Regions from separate parts of the Homo sapiens genome. Here regions 2, 3 and 4 are each linked to region 1. The links are contacts of gene promoters, found by promoter capture Hi-C in blood cells and fetal thymus (Javierre and others, 2016). All regions are on one chromosome and are shown on one strand. The core of a region is centred on a gene start or on the middle of the fragment in contact, and the rest is flanking DNA. Distances in the headings are between cores, read along the strand shown.

What was found. Contacts are between HindIII fragments. The CHiCAGO score rates a contact against its expected background, and 5 or more counts as called.
Region 2: a contact is called between a fragment that was not itself captured here and the fragment with the promoter of MAN2A2 in region 1, in 4 of 17 cell types (M0 macrophages, endothelial precursors, erythroblasts and 1 more). The highest score is 7.7, in M0 macrophages.
Region 3: a fragment that was not itself captured here is called in contact with the fragment with the promoter of MAN2A2 in region 1 in 11 of 17 cell types (M0 macrophages, M1 macrophages, endothelial precursors and 8 more); the score reaches 16.6 in M0 macrophages.
Region 4: a contact is called between a fragment that was not itself captured here and the fragment with the promoter of MAN2A2 in region 1, in 1 of 17 cell types (M0 macrophages). The highest score is 5.8, in M0 macrophages.

Annotation. Positions count from the first base shown.
Region 1 is chr15:90,901,538-90,904,814 of GRCh38, forward strand. MAN2A2 (mannosidase alpha class 2A member 2) reads left to right here and starts at 1,765. Exons shown (of 23, transcript NM_006122.4): 1 at 1,765-1,895; 2 at 2,653-2,802. The coding sequence starts at 2,671. RefSeq lists enhancers at 806-855, 2,696-2,755 and silencers at 1,026-1,295, 1,316-1,745. The HindIII fragment of the contact is 23,300 bases long and covers 1-3,277 here.
Region 2 is chr15:90,679,133-90,682,409 of GRCh38, forward strand. All of the region lies in intron 2 of CRTC3-AS1 (CRTC3 antisense RNA 1), which reads right to left. Among named protein-coding and RNA genes, the nearest start is that of LINC01585, 21 kb to the left of the region's middle. The HindIII fragment of the contact is 4,674 bases long and covers 1-3,277 here.
Region 3 is chr15:90,700,172-90,703,448 of GRCh38, forward strand. All of the region lies in intron 2 of CRTC3-AS1 (CRTC3 antisense RNA 1), which reads right to left. Among named protein-coding and RNA genes, the nearest start is that of CRTC3-AS1, 15 kb to the right of the region's middle. The HindIII fragment of the contact is 199 bases long and covers 1,603-1,801 here.
Region 4 is chr15:90,717,238-90,720,514 of GRCh38, forward strand. BLM (BLM RecQ like helicase) reads left to right here and starts at 109. Exons shown (of 22, transcript NM_000057.4): 1 at 109-203. The HindIII fragment of the contact is 2,711 bases long and covers 104-2,814 here.

The DNA.
Region 1 (3,277 bases), core at 515-3,014:
GGTTGATGGGTGCAGCAAACCACCATGGCACATGTATACCTATGTAACAAATCTGCATGTTCTGCACATGTATCCCAGAACTTAAAGGAAAATTTTTAAAAATGAGATGGCATTATATATCTCATTAATCAGCTAAAACATTGTTTAAGCAATATCCAGCAGTTTGTTATTGATGGTGTAAACTGGTACAGTCTTTTGGGGGAGCGATAGTGTCATCAGTCATCTCTGTCCTTATCTTTTGCCCGGGTAACTTCACTGTTGCAAATTCATCATAAAATAACGTCTTAATCTGTTCGGGCTGTTAGGACAAAATACCATAAAGTAGGTAGTTTATCAACAACAGAAATGTATTTTCTCACAGTTCTGGAGGCTGGAAAGTCCATGATAAGGCATAAGCGGATTCAGTGTCGGGTGAGGGCCTGCCTGTGGTGCACAGATAGTGCCTTCTAGCTGTGTTCTCACGTGGTTGAAGGGGCCGACTCTCGGGGTCATTTGATACCGGCACTAATCCCATTCATGAGAGCTCTCCCTTCAAACTCTGTTCACCCCCAAAGGCCCATCTCCTAATACCATCATCACCTTGAGGGATTAGGATTTGAACATGAATTTGGGGGGTCACATTCAGATAATGTTATATATAACTTAAAAAGAACAAAAATGTGGAATTCATGGAGATGTTCATTGCAGTATGGATTACACTGAAAAACTGTAAACAACCTAGATGCCCAGTAAAAGGGAAACAGCCAAGAAAAGTCTGTGTCTTGTTCACTCGCTGGCAGGAAACATAGAGCAGGCACGGAAAGGAAAGGGACTCGAGGAATGCGCTGTACCGACAGGAGGCAGCACCCCTTTGCCCGAGGGGCGCAACGACAGAGACCTAAGGCTACCTGGGCCGGAGCCGGGTGAGGCCGCGGAGAACGCACCCCGCTACGCGTCTGCCGAGACGGAGGCGGGCGTTTCGACCACTGCCCGATCATGCGCTTACTCAAGTAGGATTCCGAAAAAATTCAGTCGCGCGTCCCTCCTGAGGTTCCGCAGCTGGCCAGGCCCGGCCCGGGCTGGTGCGGCTGCGCACTGCAGCCCAGCGGAGCGGGCCCGGGAGGAGCCGGGCGGGGACCGCGGCGGCCAGAGCTCCTGTCAGCTCCGCCGGGCACACGCAGGCCGGGGCGGGCGGCGCGGCTGTCCCCGCCCCGCACGCTGCTGGGCCCGGCAGCTTCAGAGGCTGGCGGACCCGCGCGGGGCCGGCGCAGCGGAGCGCGCCGGCGGCCCGGGGCCCAGCGGGAGCGCGGCAGCGGCGCGCGGAGCAGGGGGCTACGGGTGGGCGGGCGCCCGCCTTCGCCTGCGTCGCTGCCTGCACGCGGGCCGCCGTCCCCGGGCGTGTGAGAGCCGGCAGCTCGGCCGACTGGGCCCGGAGCGGCGCGGAGGCCGGGCGCTGACGGTAACGGGCCGGGTGCGCGCGCGGGAGGGCTCCGGCTGCCCCGACAGAGGCCGGGCTCGGGCGGCGGGAGTGCGAGCGCCACTGCGGCGTCAGAGGGGCCAGGAAGGGACAGGAGGCTGCCTGAGGCCCGTACCTGGCGCCTGTCTCTGCGGTCCCCGGGGCCGACGAAGTCGGAGCGGGTGGGGAGGGAGCCGGGCGGGCGGCCAGAGACCTGGCGGCAGGTGCCTGCCCTCTGTGATCCAACTCTCTCCCCAGCTCCACCCACATTGGCCTAGACCCAGTCTCTAAGGGCTGAAAATATTGCCCGGAAGCTCCCGAGCAGAATCAGATCGCGCTAAGTAGGGCACAACGCAGAGGCGACAAAGCTCCTCGGCCCCAGGGCCCGCGGAGCAGACTCCGGAGCGCGGTCCCGCCCACGCTCGGCTCCGCAGTTAGCGTCCTCCTTCCTCCTGAGCAGGCAAGCGGAGCCCGAGGGCGGTGGCGGCGGGGGGCACGGGTCCCCTGAAGTTGCCTCGCAGCTGAGCACTGGGCCCCGTCTCTCCCTTCCCAGGGGGCCTTCGGCGTCACTGCAGGCTTCCTAGGGGTCCCCTAAGTGCTCTGCAAACCGCGGCTGGAAGTTTCCCACTGCAGTGAACAGTAGAGAAACAGGGAGAACACACAGGGCTTGCTTTATGCTAGAAACACAAGCATCTTTCTTCTTTATTAGAAAGAAACTCATTCTGTGTTTCTGAGAAAGGATCGTGCCAGGCACTGTTTCTGGTGAGTGCCAGTTTGACCCGAAAGGGCACTGAGAAAGGCTTTCCTATCAGTCTCTTTGGGTTCTGGCTAAACTTTTAAATCAAACAAAATAGAGACTAGCTTATTCACCTGAAACTAGAAGCACATGGCCGAGGAGCCTGAACAGGCACCTCCTATCTAGGCAGGGAAGCTGTGTAATCAGGAGCTTGTGTGGTGCGCTCCAGTCGGAGCTGGGACTCTTATCCTGGGCCCGTTTTTCATAGCACCAGCCAAAGGAGAGCGTCCTCTCCACCCTAGCGGCAGAGCTGCTACCAGGACCAGGTGGGCCAGCCTCAGATGTGCTGCTTGTGCTACTTGGAGCCAGGCAAATGGGTGTTCCTTTGGAACAGCCCTCAGGAACTCACTGGGGTATTTGGTGGAAAGACTGCCACGGGCATTTTGCATGTTGGAGCTACAGATGGTGTCCTTCCTGCCAGGTGTGTGTGGAGGCCAGTATGAAGCTGAAAAAGCAGGTGACAGTGTGTGGGGCTGCCATCTTCTGTGTGGCAGTCTTCTCGCTCTACCTCATGCTGGACCGAGTGCAACACGATCCCACCCGACACCAGAATGGTGGGAACTTCCCCCGGGTGAGTCGTGCCTGGTTGCTAATTTCTTTGTATACAAGTCACCTGGGCTCAGGGTATGCACCTCCCACCCCGCCGCCTCCCCTCCCACCCCCCGCTGGAGGGTAATGTCAGTACAGGACAGGAGCCTTCCTTCCCAATAGTCAGGTTTTGTAGAAACCCTCAGCTAAAAACAGTGATGGCGAAAAGAAGGAAGGAAGAAAAAATGTCAATGGCAATGAGTATTGTCACTCTGTTCTCCTGAATTCTTTTCTTTCTTTTTTTTTTTTTTGAGACAGAGTCTCGCTCTGTCGCCCAGCCTTGAGTGCAGTGGCGCGATCTTGGCTCACTGCAACCTCCGCCTCCCAGGTTCAAGCAATTCTCCTGCCTCAGCCTCCCAAGTAGCTGGGACTACAGGAGCCTGCCACCATGCCCGACTAATTTTTGTATTTTTAGTAGAGACGAGACGAGGTATCGCCATGTTGGCCAGGCTGGTCTT
Region 2 (3,277 bases), core at 260-2,759, 220 kb before region 1:
TCAGAGAGAGCCTTTTCACATGAACCCCTGTGTCCTTTTAATCAGACTCCATAGTGATGATACCTTCCTTGTTCAGCTGCCCCAACCTTGGACTGGCCATTTGGCAGGAGCCCTAGTTTCTTTTAGCAGAGAATGACATACAGAGACCATGATCTAGGCAAGATATATACTTTTTTTTTTTTTTTTTTTTTTTGAGACAGGATCTCACTGTCTCCTTGGCTGGAGTGCATGGCAGTCACGACTTACAACAGCCTTGAACTCCTGGGCTCAAGGGATCCACTAGCTTCAGTCACCTGAGCAGCTGGGACCACAGGCACATACCACCATACCTGACACTCTCTCTCTGTCTCTCTCTATATATATTTGTTGTTGTTTGTTTGTTTGTTTTCGTAAAGACAGGGTCTTTTGTTTTGAGACAGATCTCACTCTGTTGCCCAGGCTGGAGTGCAGTGGCACGATCTCGGCTCATTGCAACCTCCGCCTCTCAGGTTCAAGTGATTCTCCTGCCTCAGCCTCCTGAGTAGCTGGGACTACAGGCACGTGCCACCACGCCCAGCTAATTTTTGTATTTTTAGTAGAGACAGGGTTTCACCATACTGGCCAGGCTGGTCTTGAACTCCTGACCTTGTGATCCACCTGCCTCCGTCTCCCAAAGTGCTGGGATTACAGGCGTGAGCCACCGTACCCGGCCAAGACAGGGTCTTTTTTTATTTTTCATTTTCTCAGCCTGAATATGTTTGTAGACAAGGTCTTGCTATGTTGCCCAGGTTCTACTCTTTTTAAACACAAAAATTACATAATTTTTCAGACAATCTGTTTTGCCATATTGAGAGGCCTTTGCATTAAGTCTGCTAATGCCCTGACAACCACCACATCACTTGGGATTTGGAGTCCCTTTGGGTTAGAGCAGGGTTTCTCAACTTCGGCACTATTGACATGTGGGCTGGATCATTTTGTTCTTTGGAGGCTGTTCTGACACTGCAGGTAGATGCCAGTAGCACCTCCCTAGTTGTGGCAACCAAAATGCCTCCAGACATTGCCCAATACCCCTGGGGGTGCCAAAATCATCCCCCGTTAAGAATCACTGGATGTCCTCTGGGATTCTACGGAAAACTTCCTGGAACAAACCAGAGAAAATCTGACTCCTGATGTCACATCCATGCCAGCTTCCTGCCTCTGTTTCCCCATTTGTCCAGTTGGGATCATGACTACAAGATAAAACAGCATATGGTGGGAAGCAATGGGACCTGCAAGGAGTCATCGTGGTACTCATGAGGAGCAGACATAAGGTCACAAGCAGCACTGCCCTGGAACTGCATGGCACTGTGCTGGCTTTGCCAAGGTGGTAGGGCATCCCACTGAACTGACTCAAGTCCCCAGGATTGCTCCAACTCTTGTATTCCCTCCAGGCCTCTTTTTAATGTTAGCGTTGTTTAAGATCTTTCATTTTACTGTCAAAAAGAGAAAGTCTCATTTAATTCATACCAGATGCTGAGTGAGTCGTCATGAATCAATACAACATTATCCAAAAACCACCAAAATGAATCATAAGGATAAACAGGATTTTTTTCTCCCTGCAAAACAGTGACTAAAATAGTGCCTTGCCCTTTTAGAAAAAAAAAAAAAAAAATCTGAGGTTAGGAGGAGGCCTAGGGCCCTGCTCATGTAATCCACGTGTCCGTGAGCATGGAATGGTTCAACTGCAGGTCCTAGGGAGACAGTGTATGAGGCCTGCAGCTAAGCCAGGCAGACACGGGCTGGAGAAGGTGTCCCAGAGTTAGGATTCAGGAATGGGGGTCCAGCAGCCCCCTGAAACTTATGCAATCCTCTGTTTCCATCCCAGTCTCAAAGCTGTCTGTGACTCAGAGAAGTTTTGTCACCCTCATTATGGATGAAGAGGCTCTTGGGAACTGTGGAGGGTCTTCTGGGAGGTGAGCATCCCAGAATTCTTCTGCTGCTGATAAAGCTAAGGCAGCCCATCAGCCTCATGAGCACTTATTTTCTCAGTCCTTCCTCTACTGTGATCCTGAGAATGCACTCTGAGTATGTAGGGGAGTCAGAAATGGTGTTTGTCCTCTCTGGGGCAGCAGGGAGGCTGGAGAGGGAAGGCTCTGGGCCCACCTAGGCACTCAGACTCTGACCCTTGAATGGAGGAAGCAAAAGCCAAGAAGAGGTTGGGGCTGACACATCTTTACAGTGTGGCCAGATGAGACTCTCAGTTGGTTCCAGCTTCTAGGTCCCCACGGCCTCCCTGTTTTCTGTCTTTTCCAGACCAGGCTCTTCAATTTCCCCTTCCATGTTGTGAGGGACTCCATAGCCTTCTTGTGAATTTCCCTTGGGGTCGGGGGTCAGTGTCTGTTTCTTGCCACCGCAGCACCAGGCTGGTTGTTTCTGTAAGAGGCTCTGAGAGCTGCGCCTCCCACATCCCTCACCTCCCAGACTTGTGCAGGAGTAGTCAGGAACATGCGGAGCTGGAACCACACTCGATGGCACCCACGAGGTCAAGTCAGAAGGGCTCCCTTCTGGTAAGGCAGAATCAGAGCCAAGGAGGCTGAGCGTTCCCTGCAATCACTGCCATCACTGATGAAGGAACTGACTCATCTGATGTGGGCCATTGAGGAATGTGGAGGTTGGACGAGTGACCACTAGGACCTTCAGCAATAGAGAAAATGGAACTGGCTGGGCACGGCGGCTCATACTTGTAATCCCAGAACTTTGGGAGGCTGAGGTGGGAGGATCACCTGAGGTCAGGAGTTCAAGACCAGCCTGGCCAACATGGTGAAACCTTGTCTCTACTAAAAATACAAAAATTGGCTGAGTGTGATGGCACGTGCCTGTAATCCCAGCTACTCCAGAGGCTGAACCAGGAGAATTGCTTGAACCTGGGAGACAGAGGTTGCAGTGAGCTGAGATTGCACCACTGCACTCCAGCCTGGGCAACAGAACAAGACTCCATCTCAAAAAAAAAAAAAGAAGGAACTGTTCCCAGAGATCCTCAGTGCCACTCCAGGTTTCAGCGAAGCTCTGCTGAGGGGCCGGGGTCATGGACCCCAGTGTACACAGGCTCTACTAGGGGATCCTATCGAAGCCCCCTCCCCCGAATGGCCTCCAGGAATCTGTCCTGGCTCCACCTCTGGAACCTTCATTTTCTTACATCTTGCCTGTAGCCATCACCACACTTGGCAACCTACTGTGTGTCACCTAGCTCCCCTACTTATGGGATGACTACTTCAATTCTTCACTCTCTCAAACTTCCAAGGCCCTCCTATCCCCCCCT
Region 3 (3,277 bases), core at 452-2,951, 200 kb before region 1:
TTTAATGGAAGAGTGAACTGCTTACTGTAATCAGGGATACCTAATGCTAGGACTCATTTAAGGGAAGAAAAAGCCTTTTAGATGTTAAGACCAAGGTAATCATTTGACATTGCTAGCTTGAGTTAGATGTAGTAGATGTTTTGTATCTGAAGTATATTTTAGTATTTACTGTCAGCTAAGGCCAGACATGTCCAAGAAGCTATGCATTTGTGAACTTGTGGTGAGCCCAGGGCCCTTGAAGATACCTACTTCTCTAGAAGAAAATGAGTGTCTCTTACTGATTTGTCATGTTCAAGTAATGGACTTGGAACAGACATAATTATGATTTATTTTAATAGCTTTGTGGCCCTTTTGTACACAAGAAGGAAGGTAGATTAAGAAATCTCTTTTGGCCAGCCACAGTGGCTCACGCATGTAGCCCAGCACTTTGGGAGGCCGAAGTGGGTGAATGACTTGAGGTCAGGAGTTCAAGACTAGCCTGGCCAACATGGAGAAACCCAGTGTCTACTAAAAATACAAAAATTAGCTGAGCATGGTGGCGTGCACTTGTAATCCCAGCTACTCAGGAGGCTGAAGCAGCAGAATTGCTTGAACCCAGGAGGCAGAGGTTGCAGTGAGCCAAGATACACCACTGTACTCCAGCCTGGGCGACAGAGTGAGACTCTGTCTCAAAAATAAATACATTAATTAATTAATTTCTCTCTTTTGAGGGCAGGGTATGGTGGCTCAAGCCTGTGATACCAGCATTTTGGGAGGTGGGAAGATTGCTTGAGCCCAAGAGTTCAGGACCAGCCTGGGCGACAAAATGAGACTGGGTCTCTATTAAAAAATAATTAAACATTAGCTGGGCATGGTGTTGCATGTCTGTAGTCCCAGCTACTCAGGAGGCTGAGGTGGGAGGATGGCTTGAGCCCTGGAGGTCAAGACTGCAGTGAGCCATAATGGCATCACTGTACTCCAGCATGGGTAACAGAGCAAGGCCCTGCCAAAAAAAAAAAAGAAGAAATCTCTTTTGAGGCCCTTTAATGAGGGGGAGACCAACAGAAGGCTGCTAACATATTGCATAAGAACACAATTTCCAGGAAACGTTCTGTTATTTAAATCACTCTTAAGAATTAGGAAGTCCAGGAGCTCTGGGCTGAAATTGCAGATTAAACATGCACATCTAGATCCATTCCCCCAAAAACCTACTATAGTAAAGTGACTGTATATATAGTAAAAACTACAATAAGTCTACAACAATGAGAACAGAACAGATGACAGCAGGTCAGGCGTGGTGGCTCACGCCTATAATCCCTGCACTTTGGAAGGCCAAACCGGGTGGATCACTTGAGCCCAGGAGTTCAAACCGGCCTGGCCAACACGTTGAAACCTTGTCTCTACTAAAAATGCCAAAAAAAAAGTAGCCAGGCATGGTGGCACACACTTATAATCCCAGCTACTTGGAAGGCTGAGACAGGAAAATTGCTTGAACCTGGGAGGCAGAGGTTGCAATGATCCGAGATTGCACCACTGCACTCCAGGCTGGGCCACAGAGGGAGACTGTCTCAAAAACAAACAAACAAAAACAAAAAAAAAAGAAAAAGAAAAAAAGATTAGCCAAGCTTGGTGGCACATGCCTGTGGTCCCAGCTACTCGGGAGGCTAAGATGGGAGGATCACTTGAGCCTGGGAGACGGAGGTTGCCGTGAGCCAAGATGATGCCACTGCACGCCAGCCTGGCAGGCAGAACAAAACCCTGTCTCAAAAAAGAAAAACAAACAAACAAACAAACAAAAAGAGAGAGAGAGACAACAGCAGCAAGCTTTTGGAACCTAGAAAGCAGAAGAGTGGTGACTGTCTTAGCTGACCTAAGAAGGAACCATTCTTGGGCCAGTAGTGGGCAGGGTTCTCCAGAGAAACAATAGGAGGCAATAAGGGGTGTGCGTGTGTGTGTGTGTGTGCGCGTGTGTGTGTGCGAGCGCATATGTAGGAGAGACAGAAAGAAAAAGACAAAGACAGTGAGAGAGAAAAGGAATTGGCTCGCATGATTATTTGGCTGGTAAATCCAAAATCTGTAGTGTGGATGAAGAGGTATTTTTCAGCAGACCAAGTAAGTCAGCTGTAAAATACCTCTTGCTGGGGCAAAAGGTCAGTCTTTATTCAGGCCTCCAACTAACTGGATGAGACCACCCACACTATGGGGAATGTTATGAACTGAACACTTGTGTCCCCCCCAAATCACATTAAAGCCCTAACCCTCAGGGTGATGGTATTTGGAGATGGGGCCTTTGGGAGCAACAAGGGCATATGGGAGCCCTCATTATGGGATTAGTGGCTTTGTAAGAAGAGACACAAGAGATCTCTCTCTGCACCACGTGAGGAAGACACAGTGAGAAGGCAGCCATCTGCAAGCCAGCAAGAGGCTCCTCACCAGAAGGTAAACTGCCTAGCACCTTGACCTTGGACGTTCCAGCCCCCAGAACTGTGAGAAATGTTTCTGTTGTTTAACCAGCATGTGTATGGTATTTTATTATAGTAGGCTGAGCAGACCGAGACAGAGAGCAATTGACTTCACTCAAGTCTACTGATTTAAATGCGAATTTCTTTTTTATTTTGTTTTTGTAGAGACAGGGTCTTGCAGTGTTGCCCAGGTTGGTCTCAAAACCCGGGCCTCAAGTAATCCTCCCACCATGGCCTCCCAAAATGCTGGGATTACAGGCATGAACCACCAGATCCCACCTAAATGCTAATTTCATCCAAAAACACCCTCACAGAAACACCCAGAATAATGTTTGTCCAAATATCTGGGCACTTGGCCCAGTCAATTTGACACATATTAACCATCACAGTATCCTAAAAAGGCACAGAAACTGACAGAACCCAGGCATCTCTGGAATTGGGAGTGAAAGGAGGTCCAAAATAATGAGAACTGGGTGAAAGCAGTTTGAGATGCAGCTAGATCCTGAGATCCCCTCACCCACTCCATACTTATTAGCAACTGCCCCTCCCTTGTCTCCAAGAAGAGGCATTAGTACCTACAGATGGTAAAATAAAGGTCTGTGGACTGAGGAAACCAGGCATAGTTGAGGATGTGAGTACTGTACCAAAAATAAGGGTTTAAGTGACTACTGCTATTGAATGTTAGATGCTGAGTCCAGCTCTATTCTCCCACTGGGCTCCCTGAGCATTACCAGGAGATTGGAACATTTAAAGAGGCTTCTCTGGGGAATCCAAGCGGCCTGAAACACCTAAATAAAGTGATCCTGGAGGTATCCCAACATAGGGCCTCCCCAGGG
Region 4 (3,277 bases), core at 209-2,708, 180 kb before region 1:
CTGTACGGCGACCCCGCCCCAGCAGCCTGAGGGGGCGGGAACAGATGTCCGAGTGCGACAGTATTGGTCGGCTTCCCCAGGAAGCAGCCAATCGGAATAGGCAAGCTTCCGGCGGGAAGTGAGCCAGGGCTTGGCGCGGCGGCCGTGGTTGCGGCGCGGGAAGTTTGGATCCTGGTTCCGTCCGCTAGGAGTCTGCGTGCGAGGTGAGTACCGCGCGCGTAACTACGGGTCGGTCCGCATTGATCTAGCCCTGCTCTGGCGGCCCGGCCCGGAGCTGGAGGCCGCTCGGGTTCTTCCGTTTCCTGCACTGGTTCGCCTCGGCCCGCTGAGTCCTCTAGTCTGGCCAACATCCTGGGAGGACAGCAGATACATAAATACGTTCCCAAATGGGGAAACAGAGGCCCGGGGCGGGGGCGAACTCTGCCAAGGTCTCCCGGGGCGTCGGAGGCCGAGCATGGGCTAGGACCTGGCATGTTGTTGCCCATATACTCCAGTGCGTAACATGATGCCCTGCACAGAGTAATCCCAGCCCAGACCTCTGGCACTACTACCTCCGTGTCCCTCCTGAGGAACAACGAAAACACTTTGTACTTTTTCTGTGGCCTTCCATAATCACGAGCTGGGCTACTCTTGTTTTTGAGTGTCTACTGTGTGCCATGTTCCTGGCACCCTTGATCTTACAACTGTAGCTTTACGATATCCCAGCAAAGCGAAGTGCTTAAGAATACTGCATCAGATTGCTTGGGTTCGAATTCTGGCTCCTTCACATTTAGCTCTGTGTCTACTGCACGTTACTGAAACACTAAGTGTCTTGGTTTTCGTCTGTCATATGGGGGAAATGGTCTCTTCTACTTCCTGGCGTTTTTGTTAGGATTAAACGACTTAATATATGCAATAATAAATGCTTCGAAGGCTACCTGTTACATAGTACACAGTAAGGGTTCTGTTATCATTACCCAGAGAAGCGGATGAAATTGTCCCCATTTTAGACATGGAGAATCTGAAGTACAAAGAGGTTGTCTCCGTACAGAAAGAGCATTTGGTGATTAAGTGCTAGAGATACAGGATTTGAACTAAGCGCCTGATTTTAAAGTATGTCCCACAACATTAGGCTTTCTCCTATAGCCCTCACCTGTCCTTAGGTCACACAGAACTTTAGGTACCTCATGGCGTGAGATGGAGCAGGTGACTGACAGCTCCTTGTGCCACCCATGCAGATAAATAACACTGGTGTGTCACTGTCAAGATTAAGGGACAGGAATTCGAGAGACTGCATGAGAGATCAGAAGATGAAGAAGCGGGTAGGCAAAAGTATTCTGTTTGGGGAATAGTAAATAGAATTAATTAAATCAACATTTTGTTAGCTGGGCTGCTTATACTGTCAGACAGTAGCTTATAATCTACTGGGAAGAAATGAAATTTCTGGGTCCTGTGTCACTTTCAATGCCACTCACCATGACAGGTACCTTATAAGTATAGTTTACAGTCCTATCAGTAACCTGGAGAAGTAGTTATTTCCTTCGTTTTACTGAGGAAACCAAGAGTTAAAAAATCAGGAAAAGTGTTAGATGTGCAGTAGAACATCATCATGCTGGGAAGTTCTACACATCCGCTTCAGGACAGGTGGTATTACCTATGAGCAGGAAGGGAAGGGAAAAAGGTAAGGGGAATGAGTGATAGTTTATTGTTTTGATTTTTAAATTTTTATCTGTTTTTTCCTTTTTCATAGTCATTCCTGGAATGAGTGAGTTTGTTTTTGTTTTTGTTTTTGGGGGATGGAGTCTCGCTCTGTCGCCCAGGCTGGAGTGCAGTGGCGCGATCTTGGCTCACTGCAAGCTCCGCCTCCCGGGTTCATGCCATTCTCCTGCCTCAGCCTCCCAAATAGCTGGGACTACAGGCACCCACCACCACGCCCAGCTAATTTTTTGTATTTTTAGTAGAGACGGGGTTTCACTGTGTTAGCCAGGATGGTCTCGATCTCCTGACCTCGTGATCCGCCTGCCTCCGCCTCCCAAGGTGCTGGGATTACAGGCGAGCCACCGCGCCCGGCCATGAGTGAGATTTTAAATATATCTGAAATGAGGCCAGGCACAGTGGCTCACACCCATAATCCCAGCACTTTGGGAGGATGAGGCGGGCGAATCACCTGAGGCCAGGAGTTCGAGACTTGCCTCACCAACATGGCGAAACTCCCTCTCTATAGTAAATACAAAATTATCTGGGCGTGGTGGTGTGCGCCTGTGGTTCTAGCTACTGGGGAGGCTGAGGCACGAGAATCGCTTGAACCCAGGAGGCTGCAGTTAGTCAAGATTGCACCACTGCACTCCAGCCTGGGTGACAGAGTGAGAGTCCGTCAGTCAATCTACCTGAAATGTTTTATGCCTTTAAAAGAGAGAGAATAGGGCCGAGTTTAACTTTTTAAATTTGGTTGGTGGGTACATGGGTGTAATTCTATTTTCTGTATCTTTATGTAAGAAATATTAAAAATTAAAAGATATACATATATATTTTAATTTACATATATATGTGTTTTTTTCTAAGAGAAAAATGGATAGAATAAAGAGGTCCAAGATAATCGTAGAATAATCCTAGGACTTCAGTGCTGAAAGCCCCTAAGGGTCTCCACTACCTGTAGGATAAAATCTAAACTCCTTGGCATGATACCAGAGGCTTTTGAGCATTCTGTATCGCTAACACATACTATTCTACCTCAGCCTTTGTACCACTAGTTCATAGACTACTCTTCTTCACAACCTCAGTCCTGTCTGTAAAGTTCCACTTGTCCTTCAATATCCAATTCAGTGTTCTTTGAAAAGCTTCTCTATCATTTGCCTGTTTTTCCTTAATCTGGGAAGCCATAGTCTTTTAAGAAAAGACTTGATTGTCAGACTTATCTCGTTGCATTGTAATTATTTGTTGACATGTCTATTTTCTGCTAGTCTATAAGCTCCTTGAAGGCAGTAATAATGTCTTTCCCATCTCTGTACTTCAGTGCCTACCATGATGCCTGGCACAGAGTAGTCACTGTAGATATTAGCTGAATGAAAAATACAAGTTGAAGACAGAGAGTGAAAGTTCTTGGAGTTATGACATATGGACTTTGTTCTCTGGAATGACAGGGAACTATTGAGTTTACTTTCTTTAAAAATTCCCGTATTTTATTGAAACATATTCTCAATGTCAAGAAAAATATTCCAGTCATAATCCTATCTTTCAAACACTTGAACTATTTTTATTTTCCATGAGTCCTTTCCAAATTTCAGCTATAAAATTAGTT